Linked DNA regions of Homo sapiens: region 1 is linked to region 2. The links are contacts of gene promoters, found by promoter capture Hi-C in blood cells and fetal thymus (Javierre and others, 2016). All regions are on one chromosome and are shown on one strand. The core of a region is centred on a gene start or on the middle of the fragment in contact, and the rest is flanking DNA. Distances in the headings are between cores, read along the strand shown.

Region 1 (6,107 bases), core at 548-3,047, 220 kb after region 2:
CGTGTTTGGCCTTAGTACTGGAACCATCCAAGCACCGCATTCCTTTAGTGGGGTGGGTCTGCATGTAACCAGCCTCAGCTCTCCCCCAGGCTGGACCGCCCCCTTCAGACATTGGGGTCTGAAGCTGCATCGCTCACCCCAAACTTAGGGCTGCTCAGAGCTCCCTATAGAGGAAACTGGGTGTGGAACGGAGTAACCACACTCCCTAGGGCAGAGGCCCCAGACCTGTGTTTGATGGGTCAAATCCACCCCTACATGTGCAGTGCCATAACTGAGCCTGTGTTATAAAAATCATAAAATGTTTGTTTTACTTTTTTTCCTCTTCTTTTCCCCTTCCCCTTCCTTTCCCTTTTTATGAGACAGGGTCTCGCACTGTCATCACCCAGGCTGGAGTGCAGTGGCGCGATCTCAGCTCACTGCAGCCTTGATCTCCCGGGTTCAAGCAATCCTCCCACCTCCAAAGTAGCTAGGATCACAGGTGCATGCCACCATGCCCAGCTAACTTTTTAATTTGTTGTAGAAATGGGTCTTGCTATGTTGCCAGGCTGGTCTTGAACTCCTGGCCTCAAGCAATCCTCCTGCTTCAACCTCTCAAAGCATTAGGATTACAGGCATGAGTCACCGCACCCGGCCTGATCTTCTGATTTTTCAAGAGACGATGGAAATCTAGATTTTCCAGTGAAATCTCCCAGCATGTTAATGTTCATGGCAAGTTCTCATGAGCTCTTCAAGGTCAGATGACACTGTTGTTGAACCCCAAAGGCCAGGTTTGAGCTCCCGATGCGTAGTCAGCCAAACACTGACACCTCAGTGCTTAGAAGCTGAGATAGGATTATTTAATTTAGCCAAAGCAAGGGGACAGAAGAGAGAAACTCTCAAATCTGACCTGACTTTGAGCGTTAGTGGGGGCTTTTATGAGTAAAGTAGGTGTGCAGGAGGTGACCTCCCGATCGTCAAAGCTGTTGTGCCCCTCGGCTCATCAAATTTCTGGATGTCATCAAGGAGGTCTGTGTGACCTAAGGATCATTGTTCTTTGAAAGAGAGACAAGTTCATTTATCTTGCAGGCAGCTGCCAGGGAGTCAGGATGTAAGTTAAACAATTATGAGTGAATTAATGGTTACCTGCTACTGAAATGACCAAATGTAACTAATCATGCATGGAGGAAGGAAAGGACAAAGAGAAAAGAAAAGAAGTAAAACGAACATCTTATAATTTTTATAACATAGGTTCAGTTATAGCACTGCACATGTAGGGGTGGCTTTGACCCATCAAACACAGGTGTGGGGGGCCCCTGCCACAGGGAGTGTGGTCACTCCGTTCCACACCGTTTCCCGGATGGGCAGTTCTGAGCAGCCTTAAATTTGGGGTGAGCAATGCAACTTCAGACCCCGCTGTCTGAAGGAGGTGGTCCAGCCTTGGGGAGAGCTGAGGCTGGGTGCACACAGACCCACTCCACTAAAGGAATGCGGTGCGTGGATGGCTGCAATACTGAAGGAAGCCATGAAAGTAACACAAGTTTGTCAAAGCTGAAAAGTCCGTGAACTAAACTGATAAAATTCACTTAGAGGTGGTGGGAATAGGCCGGGCACGGTGGCTCACGCCTGTAATCCCAGAACTTTGGGAGGCCGAGGCAGGCGGATCACAAGGTCAGGAGATCGAGACCATCCTGACTAACACAGTGAAACCCTGTCTCTACTAAAAATGCAAAAAGTTAGCCAGGCGTGGTGGCAGGCGCCTGTAGTCCCAGCTACTCAGGAGGCTGAGGCAGGAGAATGGCGTGAACCCGGAAGGTGGAGCTTGCAGTGAGCTGAGATCACGCCACTACACTCCAGTCCGGGCGACAGAGCGAGACTCTGTCTCAAAAAAAAAAAAAAAAAAAAAAGAGGTGGTGAGGTGGTGGGAATAGAACTTTGCAATCATTCAGAAAGCAGACATCCGGCAATGAGCATGAAAGAAAAGTAGATCACAGTTCCCAAGGAGGCTTAGTGTGGTCAAGGCCTTTCAGAGGGGATTTCGGGTGAGCAAAAGTGATTCAAAGTGGAGAAAAGCAGGACTGCGTTGGGTGCAGTGGTTCCCGCCTGTAACCCCAGCACTTTGGGAGGCTGAGATCGGAGGATCGTTTGAGCCCAGGAGTTTGAGACCAGCCTGGGTAACATGGCAAGACCCTGTCTCTACAAAATGTTTAAAAAACTAGCTAGGTGTGGTGGCACATGCCTGTAGTCCCAGTTACTCAGGGGGCTGAGGTGAGAGGATTGCTTGAGCCTAGGAGGTTGAGGCTACAGTGAGCTAGGATTGCGCCACTGCACTCCAGCCTGGGTGACAAAGCAAGACCCTGTCTCTAAAGAAAAAAAGAGGCCGGGTGTGGTGGCTTACACCTGTAATCCCAGCACTTTGGGAGGCCAAGGCGGGAGGATCACTTGAGGTCAGGAGTTCAAGACCAGCCTGGCCAACATGGCGAAACCCTGTCTCTACTAGAAATACAGAAAAATTAGCTGGGTGTGGTGGTGGGCACCTGTAATCCCAGCTACTCGGGAGGCTGAGGCAGGAGGATCACTTGAACTGGGGAGGTAGAGGTTACAGCGAGCCAAGATCGCGCCACTGCACTCCAGCCTGGGTGACAGAGGGAAACTCCATCTCAAAAAAACAACAACACAACAACAACAACAATAACAACAAAAAAACAAAGCAGGACTGGAGAGAGGTGGAATGAAGTGGCAAGGGGTTCCTGAGGGGTGATTTGGGACAGGACATCTAAAGCCAGGTGTACGCTCACGTCCTCAGTCCCCCAGGCTCCTGCACGGGCTCTGTTCTTTTGCAGAAAGGCCTTTTCCACCTCATATCCAGCTCCCTCCAGAAATTCAAGAGTCCCAGGAAGTCACTCTGACCTGCTTGCTGAATTTCTCCTGCTATGGGTATCCGATCCAATTGCAGTGGCTCCTAGAGGGGGTTCCAATGAGGCAGGCTGCTGTCACCTCGACCTCCTTGACCATCAAGTCTGTCTTCACCCGGAGCGAGCTCAAGTTCTCCCCACAGTGGAGTCACCATGGGAAGATTGTGACCTGCCAGCTTCAGGATGCAGATGGGAAGTTCCTCTCCAATGACACGGTGCAGCTGAACGTGAAGCGTGAGTCTCCCCGGCATGCCTGTGGGAAGGGCAAGGTCTGTGTCACCTTCTCCCCAGCCCCGCAGGGGGCATGCACCCAGGGCAGGGGGAAGCCTGCACAGACGGCGGCATCCTCCAGCCCTGGTCACGCCGCCTTGTCAGCCCTGGTGTTTCGGGAAAAAGATTTGCTCTAGCCTAACAGAATAAAATGGTCCATCCTCAAGCCATGACATGAATTGGGGATTATCTGGTTAGGTCTTTTTGTTCCCCTCTTGGTGGGGATTTTTTTCGCATCATTATCTTGTGCCTCATTCATTCAATAAATACGTATCATGAACCTACTAGGTACCAGGCCTTATTACGGCTGCCAATGGGGGGCATGGGGCGGTGGGCAGGGTGCAGCAGTGAGCAAAACTCTTGCCCCACGCGGAGCCAGCGCTGCAGTGAAAGAGACAGACAACAAATGGATTACCAAAGAAATACAGAGCATGAGCCAAGACATTAGAATCTGGAACAAAGCAATGTTAACAAAGAAATATACAACACTATTGTAGGTAGTGATATGTGTGTTAGGAAAAAAATAAGGCCGAGAGAGGGGAGTGATGGAGAGAGACCTCTCTAAGAAGGTGAGCACTTAGGCCGGGTGCGGTGGCTCACGCCTGTAATCCTAGCACTTTGGAAGGCCGAGGCGGGGGGATCACAAGGTCAGGAGATCGAGACCATCCTGGCTAACATGGTGAAACCCCATCTCTAGTAAAAATACAAAAAATTAGCCAGGCATGATGGCAGGCGCCTGTAGTCCCAGCTACTTGGGAGGCCAAGGCAGGAGAATGACATGAACCCAGGAGGCGGAGCTTGCAGTGAGCTGAGATCGCACCACTGCACTCCAACCTGGGTGACGAGTGAGACTCCATCTCAAAAAAAGAAAAAAAAAGAAGGTGAGCACTTAAGCTGACTGGAACGGAGGGAGTGGCTGAGGCCGGCACATATTTGGGAGAGGAGGATTTCAGGGAAAGAGAAGGGCAGGTTCAAAGCTTTGAGGCAGCAGCTGGGTGGGAGGACCTCAGAGGCTGAAGTTCACCGCCTCTGAGGGCCACATGGTAGGACAGGAGGCAGGAGATGGAGCAGGACTCTGGATCCCGAGGGCTGAGGTGAGGGTTTGGGATTCTATGCAAAGCACAGAACCCGCTCGTGGTTTCCAGCAGGATTGGCGAGGTCTGGTAGATGGTGTTAGGAACCCTGCGTGCTGCTGGTGGAGACCAAGAAGTAGAGGAAGTGGGAGGGGGAAGCTGAGAGCCGAGTTAGGAGGCTGTGACCATCACCTGGGTGAAGGGACTGGCAGGCCATGGCTTTGTCAGAATAAAAGCACTTTCCACACCCTCCACCCTCTGAGGATTCCCCGCCCCCTCCCCGACTGCCCCTCTGCTCCTCCAGACACCCCGAAGTTGGAGATCAAGGTCACTCCCAGTGATGCCATAGTGAGGGAGGGGGACTCTGTGACCATGACCTGCGAGGTCAGCAGCAGCAACCCGGAGTACACGACGGTATCCTGGCTCAAGGATGGGACCTCGCTGAAGAAGCAGAATACATTCACGCTAAACCTGCGCGAAGTGACCAAGGACCAGAGTGGGAAGTACTGCTGTCAGGTCTCCAATGACGTGGGCCCGGGAAGGTCGGAAGAAGTGTTCCTGCAAGTGCAGTGTGAGCCCCTCGGAGCTGGGGACAGGCCAGGCAGGGAGGTAGCAGGGGTGGACCCGGAGAGGGGAGCCACGGGGGCTCTCGGGGCCGTGTGCACAGGTTGGGGGTGCTCTCCTCACCCCTCCACTCGCCTCTGCCCCCTCTTCCAGATGCCCCGGAACCTTCCACGGTTCAGATCCTCCACTCACCGGCTGTGGAGGGAAGTCAAGTCGAGTTTCTTTGCATGTCACTGGCCAATCCTCTTCCAACAAATTACACGTGGTACCACAATGGGAAAGAAATGCAGGGAAGGACAGAGGAGAAAGTCCACATCCCAAAGATCCTCCCCTGGCACGCTGGGACTTATTCCTGTGTGGCAGAAAACATTCTTGGTACTGGACAGAGGGGCCCGGGAGCTGAGCTGGATGTCCAGTGTGAGTAGCCACGGAGCCTCTGGTTCTAGGGAGAGAAGATGGACACAGGGAACGGGGAAGGCAGATGGGGTGCAGGGCATTCCGGGGTCCTGGAGTCAAGAGCAAGGAGCAGCCAGGGTCTCCTGTTCACAACTGCTGTCTCAGCTCCTAGCATAGGGCCTGGCTCATGGAGGGTGCTTGGTAGATGCTTGTTTTTTTGTGTTTTAGTTTTTTTTGAGATGGAGTCTCCCTCTGTCTCCCAGGCTGGAGTGCAGTGGCACAATCTCGGCTCACTGCAAGCTCCACCTTCCCGGGTTCATGCCATTCTCCTGTCTCAGCCTCCTGAGTAGCTGGGATGACAGGCGCCCGCCACCACGCCCGGCTAATTATTTGTACTTTTAGTAGAGACGGGGTTTCACCGTGTTAGCCAGGATGGTCTCGATCTCCTGACCTCGTGATCCACCCGCCTCGGCCTCCCAAAGTGCTGGGATTAGAGGCGTGAGCCACCGCACCCGGCCTGTAGATGCTTGTTGAATGAATGAGGCCAGGTGCGGTGGCTCCCGCCTGCAATCCCAGCTCTTTAGGAGGCTGAGGCAGGAGGGTCTCTTGAACCCAGGAGTTTGAAACCAGCCTGGGCCACACAGCGAGATACCATCTCTACAAAAAAATACAAAAATTAGCTGAGCATGGTGGTGCGTGCCTGTGGTCCCAGCTACTGGGGAGGCTGAGGAGGGAGAATCACTTGAGCCCAGGAAGTGAAGGCTGCAGACTGAACTATGTTCCTGCTACTGCACTCTAGCCTGGGTGACAGAGCAAGACCTGGGTCTCAAAAAGAAAAAGAAAATGCTGGGACTGGGATTATAGGTGTGAGCTGGGCACAGTGGCTCACACTTGTAATCCCAGCACTTTGGGA
Region 2 (6,922 bases), core at 3,946-6,445:
AGAATTACTTGAACCTGGGAGGCGGAGGTTGCACAGTGAGCCAAGATCTCACCACTGCACTGCAGCCTGGGTGACAGAGCAAGACATTGTCTTGAAAAAATATATTGTTTAATTGATTTTTTTCCCCAACTTTTGAGATTTTCGACTATAGAAAAGTCATGTAACCCGTACAATCCACTCAAATACCCTTCACATAGCTTCCTCAATTCTTAGTATTTTGCCTGATTCGCTTTATCTCTTTATATCTATGTAATTTTCTTCTGAGTTTCTGTGTCTCACTTTTCCTGTCCCTATTTACTTGTCCAGGCGTTTTCAAAAGACTCAGTCTTCTCTGTTGTTGGTTGACCAATAAATAAATATTTAGCCTTTTTCTGGAGGGAGATCACAAAACAGGACAGAGCTCTTCCTGAATCCTTCAGGCGGATTCGCCCTCTCTTCCTGTTCTGCGGAGGACAGTCCTGGGGCCTTTGCTGTGTCAACCATGCCCCGAGGCACCCCAGAAGCTGCATCTGTCGAGTCTGTGCTGTAATCATGGCCTTGAAGGTGGAAGGCAGGTCTGAGATGGGAGGTGACAGGAGCAGGTCTGGGCCGGAGCAACCGCAAGCGCCCGTCTCCTTCTCTCCCTCCCTCCCTCCCTCCTTCCCTCCCTCCCTCCCTCCATCAAACCAGGCAGAGCTGGGGCCTGGGGCACCCCAGGGAGACAGACCTGCCACCTCAGCAATGGCTTCCAGGTGGGAATGGGGGTCTTTTAGTCCAGACTTTTCCAGAGATGCTGGAAACACAGCTTGTCCTGCTGTTTAAATGTTTGCAATTATTAATTTTTGCAATGCTTTGTAAAAACTAAAGGTACAATAGTTGGGTTCCACCCTGGGACCGCCAGTTTGCAATCCTTCTCTTAGGGACTGAGTCAGGCTGGGGGGGGGGGGCGGGCTGCAGGGCTCCCACTTGAACCAGAAGTCCCTGTCCCAGATGTCTAGCTCCAAATGTGTTCCCTGCCCTTTCCTGCTTCCCTGTAGTTCCTGCCCGCACCCAGGACCCCCAGCCATCTGCCCAAGCCCTCCCCACCCCCACCACGCCGCCCCCACTCCCCACATGATGGGGAAGCTGGCCAAGACATTCATTCCTCCACACCCCCTGCCCCCATCAGCAGCTCCACCCTCAGCACCCCCACCTCAGCTCCTCCTGCAAGGCCTCCGTGGATGGGGGGTGGCGGTGGAGAAAGCCTTTCTTTTATAATTGTTTTAAACCTACTTTTATTTTTATTTTTGTAGAGACAAGATCTCTCTATATTGCCCAGGCTGGTCTTGAACTCCTGGACTCAAAGGATCCTCCAGCCTCGGCCCCCCAGAGTGCTGGGATTACAGGCGTGAGCCATGGTGCCCAGCCTGGTAATTAACAGATACTTCGTGACCACCCACTATGCACCAGGCCCTGTTCTATAATTCAGATGAAAATCCCTGAGAGGAGCTGACGTGCTAGCAGGGGAGGCAGATAGCACCACAAAAAAAAAAAAAAAAAAGCAAACAGAAGTCAAAAGGTCATAGAGAGGTCAGGGGGTAGGTGCGATGGTGGTCGGGGAAAGCCACTTGAACCTCATGGCTTTGAGCTGTCCAGATGCGGGAGAAAAGAGAGCCAGGCAAGGGAATAGGCATTGCAAGGGCTCTTGGCCAGAAACATGCCTGGAGTGATCCAGGAACGGCAAGGAGGCCCAGGTGGCCGGAGCAGAGTGAGTGACAACAGGGGTTAGGGGGAACCCTGAACCTCCCCTGAGTTTCCCTAGTCTGTAAGATGGGGGTCTCCAACCGGTGGCCCCAGGGCCTTATCCAACCACTGGATATTTTTCATTCTGTCTACAAAGTGTTAAGAAAACGAAGTTACCAACATTTAAAAATCAGGGCCGGGTGCAGTGGCTTGCACCTATAATCCCTGCGCTTCGGGAAGCCAAGGTGGGAGGATCACTTGAGACCCAGAGTTCAAGACCAGGTTGGGCAACATAGCGAGACCCCCGTCTCTAAAAAAATTAAAAAATTAGCCAGGTGTGGTGACGTGCATTTGTAGTCCCAGCTACAGGGGAGGCTGAGGTGGGAGAATCACTTAAGCCCAGGAGTTGGAGGCTGCAGTGAGCCATGATTGGACCACTACACTCCAGCTTGGGCAACAGAGCAAGAACTCACCTTAAAAAAAAAAAATCCGGAAGGCCGGGCTCGGTGGCTCATGCCTGTAATCCCAGCATTTTGGGAGGCTGAGGCAGGCGGATCACTTGAGGTCAGGAGTTGGAAACCAGCCTGGCCAGCACGGTGAAACCCCGTCTGTACTAAATATACAAAAATTAGCCGGGCGTGGTGGCACACACCTGTAATCCCACCTACTCGAGAGGCTGAGGCACGAGAATTGCTTGAACCTGGAAGGCAGAGGTTGCAGTGAGCTGAGATCGTGCCACTGCACTTCAGCCTGGGCGACAAGAGCAAAATTCCATCTCAAAAAAAAAACAAAACAAAACAGGAGATTTCATCATAAAAATCTCCATTTCTAGCTTCTGTGGGTGAGTGATGACGTCAGAGCAGCACAGAGGCAGGTGTCAGGGAGCCTGTGGACTCTTGGCCACTGTGTCACCTCACATGGCTCCTGGAAGCCAGGCGGACAGTGATACGTCCACAGCCACACCATCCCCATGGTGGTGGGACAGGGTTACCTGCCAGTGCCCACTCTTCTCCCACAGGTGCTGAGACCACAGCGCTGTTCCACAAAGCCCCAGGAAGCCACATTACCCTGTCCACCGGCCTCTCTAGCCCCATCTTGCCCAGGAAGTGGGACCTTGGCGTATCGCTGTGACCACACCTCCCAGCCGGTCAGCCTGGCCGCTCAGGCTCTACCTGCAAAGGCAAGGCCCCACCCAACCAGCACCCCTCTCATGGCTGGGGGTGCCTCCAGGCTGCCCTCTCTAGGGCCAGGAGCCTGCAGAAACGCTCCCAGCCTTGAATAAAGAGCAACGAAATTATTGAAACAAAATCAATAAAAGTTTGAATCAGGGATGGTATAACATGCTCTGGCTTTGATTCTGTGCTTTAATTCAGCGTTCCTGAAAAACTTATGATGTCAGAAACTATCTGTAGGTTTGGTTTTTTTCATTTTGCAAGAATTCCCAGGATATGGAGAAATCACAGCCACTCACAGCCTTAACAGGTTCTTTGGGCCCAAATGATTCCAAAAGCAAAACGAGAGAAACTTTTTCAAATATGTTTATTATGTATATTATATACAATATATTAATAAAACATATTACCTACATGCATTTAAAACATAACTGAAGTCAGATTGGCCCAGAAGACTCACTCCAAATGAGACCTAATCCCCAATAGGGTGCAAGTGACTGCACAAACTCTACTCCTCACAGCCCTTCCTAAGACTCAGTGTGCTCATCACACTAGGGTCTCAGAGTCCTTCTGACCATAAACCCAAGCCCCAGCGCCAGCCCAACACACACTTGGACGCAGCATGTTCACGTCCAGCCTAGGAAGAATTTATGGTTGACCTGGATTGGGTAAAAACCGTAAACGTCTGTACCTCAGAATGTAAGATCATGGTGTTTAAAACTACAGAACATTCAGAGGTTGTCAGAAGTCTCTAATTGCTGGTCCCCCAGGTTGAAACCAGCCCTTAGGTTGAAATTTTGACCTGCAAATTTTTTTTTAAATCTGAACCAAATTTTTTAAATTAAACCCCTTTAAGGTAGTACATTTTCAAGATGCAAAATTCAAAAAATATAAGAGGGCACGTGATAATGAGTGAGTCTCACTTCCACCCCACCCTCCAGCCTCCCAGTTTCCCTCTCCAGAAGCCATGGGTATGGATGCCAATCTCCAAAAATATTTTATTCATTACAAGTATATACATATGCATTATTTTACCGCTCACAAATGGTAGCACACTGCACGGTTTCCCAATACCTTGTTTTTTTTCCCCTTAGCAAGCTGTCTGGGAAATACTTCTGTATCTAACCACGGGCAGGGGTGTTCCTCCAAGATTTTTAGACAACAGTTCTCCAGTTCACCCCGTTCCGGTGAAGGGCAGAGCACCCCCCGCCCTTCCCAGCCACCCTGTACACGCCCCTACTCGCTCTCGGATGCCTGCAGTTCCCAGGCTTCCCAGCAGAGGGAGACACCATTCCACTCCCAAGACCACCAAGGGGTCGTCCCAGACACAAGCTTCAAGGGTCTAGGGAAGAGACGCTATCCGCCCAGACACAAAGACCCCCCTTAGCTATACTGAGTTGGCCTCCGGGCCTCCCCTTCCTGTTTCTATCTCCTCCTGGACCTGTTGCTTAGAGCCCTACCCCGAGGTCCCCCCGCCCGGCTTCCTTATGGGAACTGGCCCCGCCTTAAGAGTGGTAGGAGGGAGCCTTACCCTTGTCTAGGACCTGGGCTTGACAACTTGCCCCAGGGAACCACATAGAGAAGGGGTGTAGCGCTGGGCGAACATTGCCCTCCCCGATCCCTCAGCGATGACAAGTGGGGGGTCCTTCTCTCTGCCCCCAGCAGGCCAGTTTCCGGAAGAGCCTTGACCCAAACCCCCTTTTCCTGTCCTGTGCTCCACACTCCCAGCAGCTGCTTCTCCCTGGCCAGGCCCTGCAGCCCTCCTCCCCGCCCCCACGGTGGTGTTGGGGTCGCCTGGAGTCCAGCTGGTGTCCAGGGCAGAGCTACCCCTTTCCTGGCCCTACCCCTCCCCGTGACCCCAATCCTCCGCCAACCGCTCAAAGGATCCTTGTTCTCCATCCAGCCCCCAGACAAAAGTCCCTCTGTCTAAGAAGGCGGAATTGAGGGGAGGGGGCACCCCCAACTGGGACCATGGGGGAGCCTGCACAGACCCCATCCGGAAGGAATGCCTGGAGGAGGAGGAGCAGGAGACAGGGGAGGAAAGGGGGAGGGAGGCTTGTACAGTGCTGGGGGCCTTATGTGGACTAGGAGGCAGCCGCCCCCACCAGCACCCACTCTGTAGACCCAGGCGTCTGGCTCCCAGCACCCACGGAAAGAGCCTGGCTAGGAAACTGCAGCCTGGTGCCTGGCAGACAGTTCTCATTCTCCCCAGGGCAGGGAGCAGGTTATGACCAGGACTAAGGTCCCAGAGTCCCCACCCTGACCCCTCCCTGCTGTTCCAGCCGCTCCCTCATATCCACCCCTGCCCCATCTCCTGACTTTGGTCACGCTAGCATCTTCTGCTGATCCTGAAATTGTACCAGCGGCAAGATGTGGCCTGGAAGGGGACTTTAAGTTCTCCACAACTGCCAGCAATCCTTCCACCAGGCAAAACACATCATCTAAGGAAAAGAAGTGAGGTCGGAACACCAACGCATCATCTCACTGCATGGCCCTGGAGGCTCTGCCGTTTAAAGACCCCAGAACCTTCCCCATTCAAGGTCCTCTCCTGGGCACAGGAGATTGGAGAAAGCTCCTCCCTTAATTCCAGGGGCCGAGTTCCAGCCCATCCAATTCTCCGTCTCACCTGAGGCTGCTGTGGTCCTGGTGACCCCAGGGAGCAACCTGCCGCCCATGGCTGGGGAGGGGGTGAAGCTGTCTCTTTAAGAGCAGGAATGGAGCCCCTGGGCCTCAGGGCATCTGACTTGTTTTCTACCTGCCCAGGTTTGCTTAGGGCGTGGCAGCTTCGGATAAACGCAGGACTCCGCCTGGCAGCCCGATTTCTCCCGGAACCTCTGCTCAGCCTGGTGAACCACACAGGTGAGCAGCTGGGGCCCCTTCCTCCAAGCCCTCCTTGTCTCTGCCCCTAAATTAGGAAGTATCTACCTGCCCCCTGACCCTGCCCCATAGAAGCTTTTATGTTAAAGCGCCTAAAATCTTGTGAAATGCTTTTCTGGAGCCAGGAGATAAACGGAAGTCCCTTCCCCTAATGTCCCTTTCCCCACCATTCTCCTCTCAGGGACTTGTTGAACCAGCTGAGGTGAGGGCAGGACTGATAAGTGTGGTTGGGGTGTCTGAAAGACTAGTGTCTGCATGGATTAGGGATATCTGGGTTGGGGATAGCTGGGTGGAGGAGAGGGGGTGCCTGGGTAGGTAGGGGTATCTAAGTGGACCAGGGGTGCGTAGATGGACTGGGGACATCTGGGTGGATGAGGAATGCTGGGTGGACTCGGGGTGTCCAGACATTGAGGGATCTGGGTGGATAAGGAGTGCTGGGTGGACTCGGGGTGTCCAGACATTGAGGGATCTGGATTCTGGAGACCTCCAGGAAAAAAGGATGGAGCTGCTGGGGGAAGCTTTAAATGGGGAGTTGCTTGGGAGATTTCAGGAGCACACAGCGGGCAGGATCTTTCTACCCACCCCTGAACATGAGACCATTCTCCCATGGTATGGAGGAATAGAGGGGATAGCAGAGGGCAGGTGGGGGAAACAGTCCTCAGGCCGGCCTTGGGACCTCATGGCCAGGAAGGATGAGAGCAGGTAGACAGAGCATCAGCTGCAGGGCTGCCTTCCTCTCTAACCTGCTCACCAACCACATCAGTTCGGGAGCAGCCCACAGCCTCTTCAGACAACAGCCTGAATGGGGAACGTGAGGGCAGACCCAGCTCCCGGCTCCCTGCAGCCTCCGGAAGCATGGGACTGGACGTTGTTTTGCAGAGGCTGGGGCGAGGAGGATACCATCTGTCAGTCTTGGCTGGATGACATCATGGGAAGGGGGTATAGTGGGGCCTTGCAGGCCAGAGGTGGCTTGGAGGAGCCCCTGGAAAGAGGCTTAAGAGGTGAGACTCAACAGCCATGGCGACAGAGCATAGGGCTTTAAGATGAATTTGCAGGGGTTACAGGATTACAACTGCAATGTGGGCTAATAATAGTGCCCCCTGCATTAAGCTGCAGAGATTGAGCGAGTAAGTGGGAAGCTGAGAAAATGCCCCCATGGGGTAGACACTCAA

Evidence for each region. The method cuts DNA at HindIII sites, captures the fragments that hold promoters and counts their contacts. A CHiCAGO score of 5 or more calls a contact.
Region 1: a fragment that was not itself captured here is called in contact with the fragment with the promoter of FXYD3 in region 2 in 7 of 17 cell types (total B cells, naive CD8 T cells, naive B cells and 4 more); the score reaches 9.6 in total B cells.

The regions. Positions count from the first base shown.
Region 1 is chr19:35,333,217-35,339,323 of GRCh38, forward strand. It overlaps CD22 (CD22 molecule), which reads left to right. Exons shown (of 14, transcript NM_001771.4): 4 at 2,820-3,125; 5 at 4,539-4,805; 6 at 4,952-5,215. Among named protein-coding and RNA genes, the nearest start is that of CD22, 7.1 kb to the left of the region's middle. RefSeq lists a silencer at 89-298 and enhancers at 4,097-4,246, 4,287-4,386. The HindIII fragment of the contact is 4,678 bases long and covers 1-4,136 here.
Region 2 is chr19:35,110,628-35,117,549 of GRCh38, forward strand. FXYD3 (FXYD domain containing ion transport regulator 3) reads left to right here and starts at 5,196. Exons shown (of 9, transcript NM_005971.4): 1 at 5,196-5,332; 2 at 5,637-5,732. LOC124904701 (hepatitis A virus cellular receptor 1-like) reads left to right here. Exons shown (of 3, transcript XR_007067238.1): 3 at 2,720-3,042. The HindIII fragment of the contact is 1,620 bases long and covers 4,204-5,823 here.